2 separate regions of the Homo sapiens genome follow, and region 1 is linked to region 2. Evidence: promoter capture Hi-C in human tissues and cell types (Jung and others, 2019). All regions are on one chromosome and are shown on one strand. The core of a region is centred on a gene start or on the middle of the fragment in contact, and the rest is flanking DNA. Distances in the headings are between cores, read along the strand shown.

The links. The method cuts DNA at HindIII sites, captures the fragments that hold promoters and counts their contacts. A contact is called where the count stands out against the background at its distance.
Region 1: a contact is called between a fragment that was not itself captured here and the fragment with the promoter of LPCAT2 in region 2, in 1 of the 25 tissues and cell types used here (aorta).

The regions. Positions count from the first base shown.
Region 1 is chr16:55,366,766-55,371,319 of GRCh38, reverse strand. LOC105371279 (a long non-coding RNA gene) reads left to right here and starts at 1,755. Exons shown (of 3, transcript XR_933600.3): 1 at 1,755-1,934; 2 at 3,641-3,765; 3 at 4,202-4,554. The HindIII fragment of the contact is 4,990 bases long and covers 349-4,554 here.
Region 2 is chr16:55,507,203-55,511,736 of GRCh38, reverse strand. It overlaps LPCAT2 (lysophosphatidylcholine acyltransferase 2), which reads right to left and starts at 2,665. Exons shown (of 14, transcript NM_017839.5): 1 at 2,385-2,665. The coding sequence starts at 2,555. The HindIII fragment of the contact is 8,978 bases long and covers 1-4,534 here.

The DNA.
Region 1 (4,554 bases), core at 1,594-4,093, 140 kb after region 2:
CGGCTGGCGCTGTGAGCTGCTGCTTAGAAACGAGAGGCCGGCAGCTTTGGATTCGCGGCTGTCAGATGCTGGACCGGGCCGGCAACGCTAGAGTGCAGGCTGACATAAGGATTACGGATGTGCTGCAGCCAGCCTGACGGAAAAGGCAGAAGCCTCTGCCAATAGAGGTGTTGTCTGTTACCTTCTTTATTTAGGCTTCGGGAGAGAAACCGGAGCCGAAGTAGGTAGAGGGAAGGAGGACACGTTTGATGCTCAAAGACCCCTGCCAGCTTGAGTCACATTGCCATGAGCCGGCTATCCGTATAAGATGCAAAAGCAGCAGCCGGAAAGGCATGCTTTTCTACCTTGGTTCTCCCTCGGTAGAGCCCTGGAGGAGGGGATGTAGATCTTCCCGTAGGTGAGGCTGCGATCTGTCCAAGGATCTAAAATCTACTTCAATAATCAGGGACCTGGGCACCTTTCCCCTAATTGATGTCGGAATAACTATAGTAAGGTGATCCAACCTAACCATCCATCAGTAAGAGAATGAGAGAGAAATAAAAGAATAAAGGAAGTGACAGAATCACATAGTGGAATACTACATCACAGTTAAAAGGAACGAACTAGGTTGACAGTTGGAAAAAGCAAGTTGTAGAATTTCACAAAGACACCAAGTGCTACTCCCCATGGCTTCTGGATTCCTCTAGATGTAGTGAAAGTACAGAAATGAAGGCAAGAAGGAAACATACAACATTTAGTCCAGCCGCTGGAGAAGGAGGAAGGGAAAGAGAAGGCTAAGATAGAGACGGGACAAAAGAAACTTCGGATTTATGTGCATTGTTTCATTTTTACTAAACTAATCTGGAGCAAATACGGCTTTTAAAAGACACGTTTTTCTTTCTGTTTTGTGGGATCTTGTTCGTTTGCATTGTTCTCAGTACTTTTTGTATTTACAGTGGTTAATTTTAAAGAAAAATAATTGGAAATATGAGTGTAAACCACAGACAGATGCTCACTTTCAACACAGCTCCGGTGTTGGGTCCATAAGCCCCCAAGTCAGAATACAGCTGAAAAGTTGTAGAAGTCAGTCACCTTTATAATTTTAAATGGCACCATTTGGGTGTAATTGAGTCTCTTTTCTCCCCCTCCATCCCCGCCCCTCTCCTTTTAGTCAAATTAAACTTATTGATTAGAGCCCATTAGTATGTAATGGATTGTTAATTTGACTCTTTTTACAAATCATATTTATCTGCACCAATAAAATATTTGGATTTAATATTCATATGTCACATTTATGGTGATGTTGATTGAGGGCCAAGCAATTTGAAGTGAAAGCAGACACTCCGTCCTTTATTCACACAAGGGAAATGCACAATTAGCTCCATGCACTCCTCCAGAGGTGAGAAACTTAAATATAAAGAAAATTAGAGAAAAGGAGAGAAACGTGCCCCCCCCCCGCCTTTTTTGCAGACATGAAAGAAACTCCATATAGTGTTTACACATTATTCAGCAATGGACTAGAATTGGTGCATCCTCCTCGTGTGTTACTCAAGTTATTTATAATGTGGTTGCAAAATCCCAGCTAGGAACAAAAAGTCAGATTTTTGGTAAACATCGATTAAGCTGTGGCCTCTTGTACTCATTTCTCCTATAGAGGAAAATAGAGCCCCAAGAAAGATCACGTCCTTGCCTCCTTTTGCTGGTAGAGGGCACTTAACAGTCAGATGCTTAAAGGGAAAACATGAATATATTTTATGTGCATTTGAAATAGATATTAACTGAATGCTGCAGGTGATATGGCAGCTGGGAATGCAGGAGAAAAATACTGAAAACTGCTGCCATTTATTGAGTGCCTATTCTCTGCCTGGCTCCTGGAATAATGATAACAATATTTAACATATAATACAGCATGAGCATCATCCAGTTGGAGTGGATGCCAGCCGAAAACACAACTGGTAAGCTTTAGTGGTGCACCAGCCAAGTTTTCAGCCCTGCTTGCTTCTGGAACAGGAAATGCTACGTTTAAGTTTGTTTAATGCTCAATTAAAGGAGCTGCATTCGCCCGGGCTGCTAATGCATTTGATTATTTCTTTTCTCTTTTTTTGTACTCTTAACGTTTTTTAAGTCTTAAAACATCTTGGCTTTTTTTGTTTGTTTGGTTGGTTGGTTTTTGCAAGCCACTTCAAACCTTTTGAGAAGCAGTCAGGGTATCCATTTTAAATAAATACATGATTTTCCTGATCCTGGCCAAATCTCATTACAAAGAAAACCGAGGCACCATCAGATTCCTTTGTTGCCCAGGGGGTTGTCCTATCAATATTGTATAAAGCAGTCAGGTCATTGGCTAGGCTTCAAATTCTTTTTTGTTATTTCGACCGTTTGGGGTAATACTTGTTGTAATGAGAGGCAATCTTTAAAAATAAAATTTCTTTTCATGAGGTTGGTACAAAAAGAGTCTTGCACAGTCGATGACTGACTGTGACAATATTTGGTCCATGGTCTTTGCAGACAAAGAGCTTGGCTGGTCATCATTAACGATGGTGCATGATTGCTACAACTTTTTTTGACAGTCTGCTTTCCGACAGAAACTATAAGCAGCCTATTGTCAACTCGTTTTACTGAGCTCAGGAAATTTCCATTTGTCACTTAACAGCCATGTGTCAGAAGCAAGATGCTTTGAACATGAATTGTGATTTCTTTCAGTTATCTTATGAGAATGCATGTTCTTTCCACTAGCGTGAAATGACCTAATTTTTGAAGTGGTAACCTTTATTAAAAAAAAAAACAATTAACATTCAAGTTTTCATATTTAATACCATCGTAAGTTTTTTTCCTCTAAGAAACCCAATCCCCTTCAAGGCAGTCATTATGCTAGATAAGTATGTGGTGAGCCAGGATATAGAGAGGAAGTGGGAAGTTTCCCTGGACTCAGCAGAAATTTGGTGTCAGAAGCAGAAATAGCCCCTTGTAAGCACATGGCTAATGGTTACATAGCTCTTCCTTTTCTGCATGGGTTCAAGGGGATAGATTTTTACACGAATATGTCATGGCTCCGGACTGAACTGTAAAATTCTAGAGGACAGGGAATAGAACCTATTTGTTTATTTCTCTCTCCAGGACCTAATGAAATAAGTATTTGTTGATTACATGGTAAATTTGGGGATTAGAAATGTCCTTAAAATCTTGATCAAGTTACTTCGAACTCTGGCAACACTTTTATCATATCTGGACTGAGTGTAATAATATTTTAAAGATTAATGAAATGTTGGGCAGCTCTTGTGCTATTTGGCTGTTGCAGGAACTGAGTCATAAGGCAAAAACATTTATAAAATACAAAATAATGATTTATACAGTAAGTTATACTCCCTCAGGCAAAGATGTTACATAAACCACAAGGTATTTGGCCACTGCAACACATGTAAGATGTCTTAAATACCATGAGATTTATAAATATTTTTAATAGTTAAATTTAACTTCGAAAGTTACCTAATATCCAATGAGGTTTGAGATTGGAACTTGTTTTTCTTTTTTGCATTTGAATGTGCTTCATTTAGGTTGATGCAAGCAAGTTAGTGTGGGTGCTTAATAGCATATCATAAAGGATTTAACTTAATTCCACCATAATGAATTAATTCTCTCAGTGACACTGTTTTCATTATAGATTTAATGACATCACCTTGGCCAACATTCAGGAATTCAGAACTCTAAGTTACCCTGAACTATCTAAAAACGAAAATGGAAAGATAATTCTGCTTCATGTCTGGTGTACTCCAACTGTGGATAAGGGTACGTAGAGAATGTCTATTATTTTGAGTAGTTGAGTTAAAAATAAAACTCCTAACACCAGTGAGGAAATTGGATTCCACATTCTCTTAAACTGTCCCAAGGGACATTCATTTTACAAAACATGAAACCAAGAAGAAGAAGAAAGCCCTAGTGTTTCTTTTCATTGGCTTATGTCATGATTATCTGTTGTAAACATAAAAGGATAAATATACAATCTGAAATCATAATTCAGGGACAAGTTTTCGCCAGCGAAGGAAAGGAGGAATGAGTGTAAAAATATTTATGCTGCATTTTCAAGGACTGTGTTTAATTTCCTTTTGGATTTGTTTATTTTGTGGAATTAGAGGGATGTTGCATCCTATTTTTATAGCCTTGTATTGTTATAGGAATGTTTTGGCAGATGCAAAATTAGAAACAAATTTTGTGTGTTCTCTAGTGCCCTTCAGGGCCTTAAAGGACAGGAACAAAGTATGGCAGTTTGTCATCAGAGCTCCAGGAAGCCACGAGGAAACTGAGCTTAGGAACCAAATTGCTCAAAATGGGAAAGAAATGAAGAGATGTACAGCAGATGCTCTCAGCCTGGAAGTGTAACCTTCGGGAAGAAGGAACCACCAGTCATGCTAATTGGTCTTGAACAAGGCTTGTTTGCGCTGAGAGATGAGAGAGAGCACCCCATTTCTTCCTGATTCAGTTCTGTAGACATCTTTCTGGGATTTGCAATTGATAATTATAGACACAGAGATACACTTGGCCTAATTTGCCAGCCTATTTGGAGTCATGAGTGTCACC
Region 2 (4,534 bases), core at 1,416-3,915:
CTGTGCCATCTTCAAGGTTTGCAACAAATAATAGTGTCTAACAGTAAATCAATTTTGAGTTAACTCATTGACAAATTAAGAGAATTCATCATATTTCCATTTGGTAATATGTCATCTCCATTGGGTGGCCTTCTCTCAGTGTTATTCTCTGGTTTTCCTTCATTACACTTACTAAAACATGAGATTATATATTTTTGTACTTGTTTGTTTAACTATCTTAGTGAAATGTGAGGACAACAGTCCTTAAGCAAGACATTGATCATCATTTAAGATTAAACTTAGTCTAAATTAATCATACTAAGTCATACTTAAATGAAAGTGTGTCCACCTTTTAAACTGGATAATATGGACATTGTTTTTCTACCATGCCTATTCAAATCTTCCCTTTACCCAGATGATTCAAGCCACTGAAACCTCTTGTATCTCTGATCTATATAAATTTAAAAAGTATTTTTAATATCCAGACTTTGTTAAATCCCATTTAATCCAAGTAGTAAATTTTAAGTACAGTATATACTTTGTAGAAAATATATAGGATAACTATCAATATTATCAATATTAAGATCAACAAACAATAACAGATTATTTCACTTAATTGTAGCCCTCCTTTGAGTTATTAATATTCCAATGTAATAGACGAGAAAAGTATAGTTCAGAGAGGTTAAGTGACTTGGCCAAAGTCATACAACTAATAAATGACCAGTTCCTATAACTGACTAGCTATCATTCCATTATACTATAACTCTCAGAGAGTTATTTGGAAGAGATCTTTAAACAGTAACAAACCAGGTGATGGAAAAACTTAATAATTTATTATAGGTGCAATATAAATATTTGTCAACATTCCATGCTGTTTCTTTCCAAAATATGAAGTCAAATAGATGGGCATATTTTCATTTAAGTATGATTTAATTAAATCAGACTAAATTTAATCTTGAACAATGGTCTATGTATTTACAAATGTTTCAGAATGTGAAGACACAAAAAGAATATCTATTAATTTAAAGACATGAGGATCACATTTTTAAACGTTTAATTTCCTCACAAAGCAGTATTACTACATTCTTTATCTTCTTCCTCTCTCACACCCCTCTTCAACCAGACACCCATCTACCATTACTCAAGCCACCACCTGTGTTGTTTAGCTCTGCACTTAACCTTCCCCCACTGTAGAGGACAATGGTCTTAGTGCATACAAGCTGATTGCAAATATTATACTGCTTCAAATCCAAAGTAATGTGTGAGATGGACATGAAAACTTCAAAATTGTTCCCCCACCCCCCCAACCCCCGCAGAACACACGGACAAATGTGGTTAGCAGGGTCTATCTTGTTCTCTGATCACTAACTTCAACAAAGAGGAAGTCCAAAGAGTGCAACTGCCAATGGTAAAAGGAACCCTTTACAAGAAAAAGGAAAGGAAAGGAAACTTCCTTTGTGCATAACAGTATAGCCATTTTTAACAATGGAAAACAGCCTGGGCTACTACTTCTCATGCTTCAACTTAGGAAACGTTTTTAGGTGAAGACTGATTCTGGACCAAAACTTCTTGAACATCCTAAGCTGACTCAGTTGTCCCTTTTCTTTGATTCTGACTTCCCACCCTCCATCATGCTCCTGCTCAGCTAAATCTTTCCAGCCTTACCTGTTGTTCTAACCACAGACCTAGGCTCTCTGCCTTCTGCCTCACTCTTATCCATCCCATACTGACTCCTCTCCTTCCTAAGGCAAAAAAAAAAAAAAAAAGACTTCTTCAAATCTACTCTCCCGTAGTAGATCTGCCTCCCACTACACTCTCATAAACTCAAGTTGAAGCTTCTGTCACAGATTCACAGATTCCTTCAACCTTCTGGGGCATGGAATGTAGCCTGCGCCACCAGCCAGCTCAGTCTCTTCCTGTTTTGGATTCTCCTCTCAGGCCCGCATCTTCCCAGCATCTTCTCTCCTCCCGTGCCCGCTCAGACCATCCTCTAAATGTCCTCAATTCTCAGACACACATCTCCGCCCCTTTCAGGCTCACGGCCCCTCAGAAGTCCTCTCCTCTCAGATCCACTGCTCTTTCTTCCTCTGATGCCTTTGCTTCCCAGACCCACAACGCCCCTCAGACCCACGCGCCCCTCGACCGCCCTCCCCCGTCAGACCTACACCAGTCACCTGGACCCGCCCCAGACCCTGGCTCCCCTCGGGCCACCTCCCTCCTCAGACCCATGCCCCCTTCAGGCCACCTCCCTCCTCAGACTCTCGCCCGCCTCGGACCACCTCACTCCCTCAGACCCACGCCCCCCTCGGCCGCCCTCCTCTCTCAGACCCACACCCCTTACCTGGACCCCCCTCTGACCTAGGCCCCCCTCAGACCACCTCTCCCCTCAGACCCACGCCCCTCACCTGGACCCGCCTCGCGGAGCCGATCTGCGTCTGCTGCACGAAGGGGTTCGGCACCGGCGGCGGGAAGAAGGACGCCTGACGGGGCACCATGGGCGGCCGCAGCCCCACGTTCCCGACGCCGGCACCTGGCACTGTGGCCGCCACTTCCGCCGCCTGGGCGCACCGGCTCATAGTTGAGCCGGGCGTAGAACCCGGCCGAAGCGATCTACGCGGGCGCTGCAGCCAAAACTGAGCCGAAGACCTACTAGAGTCCCAGCCTAGGGCGACGCTGGGGAGCCTCTGCGCAGGCGCTGAAGTTACTTAGACGCCTGCTGCTGCCGCCCTGCCCCTTCGGCTGTGACACGCCCCAGGCTCTGGCCACACCCCCTCAGGCATCTGGCTCCACCCCCTTGGTAATATAGTCCATCCCCTCGGAGGGGAATGTTTTCCTTCCGAGCCAAGACCCTGAAGGGTACCCCAGGATCCCTAACATTCCACAGCGAGACACTAGGCAGAGTTCCCTGCTTTAGGGTCGGACGGACCTGGATTTTCAATCCCTTTTACTGGGCCTGTGACGCTGGCCAAATCACTATCTCTATGAACCTCGGTTGCCTTCCGTAAAATGCAGATAAATGTATTCTCAGATAATCCTAACCTGGATCCAGTAATGCCATTGAGCAACCACTTCCCCTGGGCTGTTCCATTAAGTGAGCTAATATTAATACACCCATGATGGCACTAGGAGTGGAATTTGTTTCACTCAAAACATAATGGACTGACAGGGGAGAGATGGTTCTCCAGAGGAAAACTGAGCTACTATTACCAGAAAAGGCAAAAATTACAGTTGCCCTCCACGCTAGATGAGGAACCTGACCCAGAAAAGGGAAATGTATTGGGCTGTGGCTCCCTTTCACACTGAGGAAGTTCAAGCCTGTTTGGACCTATGTGGGTGCTCGTGGGGGTGGGAGGGCAGGGGTTTGTCCCATTATCTGAGGACAGTTGATCAACCCTGAGTGGCTGAGAGTTAAAGGAAGGAGATGATAATCAACTCATCCCAACTGATCAACTCTTCTCACAGCAGGTAGGAAGGCCAGGATGAAAATCTGAGTCTGAGCCCTGGGGTTCTCCAAAGTTACCCTCTGAATGTCAGAATCTTCCAGCCCTACCACATAGATGTGTGGCCTTGAGTCAGTCACTTAACCTGAGTTTGCTTCCTTGTCTAGGAATGGGAGATTCATTCTAACTCCATAGAATTGTAGCAAGGATTAAATAAAATAATGCATGTGTAGTGTTCATAGAGAAACACTGAAGAAATGGCATGTTTTAAGCATTATTATGTTGTGGAGCCACTGACTTTTCTCTCAGTGTAACAGGGAACATTAATAACAGTGCATTACAGCCATGATAGAAGATTCCCCAGTCTAGGGGGTCTTCAAGTTGGGACTGGCAGACCCTTGAGACTCTTTAGCCAGATACCTGCACAGAAAGATGTCTTTCCAACTGTCAACAACCTAAGCCAGGCCAGGTGCAGTGGCTCACGCCTGTAATCCTAGCACTTTGGGGGCTGAGGAGGGTGGATCCCTTGAGCCCAGGAGTTCGAGACCAGCCTGGGCAACAAAGAGAGACTCCACCATCTCTAAAAAAAATTAAAAATTAGCTGGCTGTGCTGTTGCATGCCTGCAGTCCCAGCTACTCAGGAGGCTGAAGTGGGAGGATTGCTTGAGCCCAGAAGATCAAGTCTGCAGTGAGCTATGATCATGCCATTGCACTCCAGCCTGGGTGACAGAGAAAGACACTGTCTCAAAAAAGAAAAAAAAAGAAGAAGAAGAAACAAAAAGAATCTGAGTCAAGGGGACAGGCCATGGGAGGATAAAAGATAGAAAAGATGGGGCCGAGAGTGGTGGCTCACACCAATAATCCTAGCACTTTGGGAGGCCGAGATGGGTGGATTGCCTGATCTCAGGAGTTCGAGACCAGCCTGGGCAACACGGTGATACCTGTCTCTACCAAAATACAAAACAAATTAGCTGGGTATGGTGGCGTGCACCTGTAATCCCAGCTACTTGGGAGGCTGAGGCAGGAGAATCACTTAAACCTGGGAGGCAGAGGTTACAGTGAGCCGAGATTGCGCCATTGCACTCCAGCCTGGGTGACAGAGTGAGACTCCATCT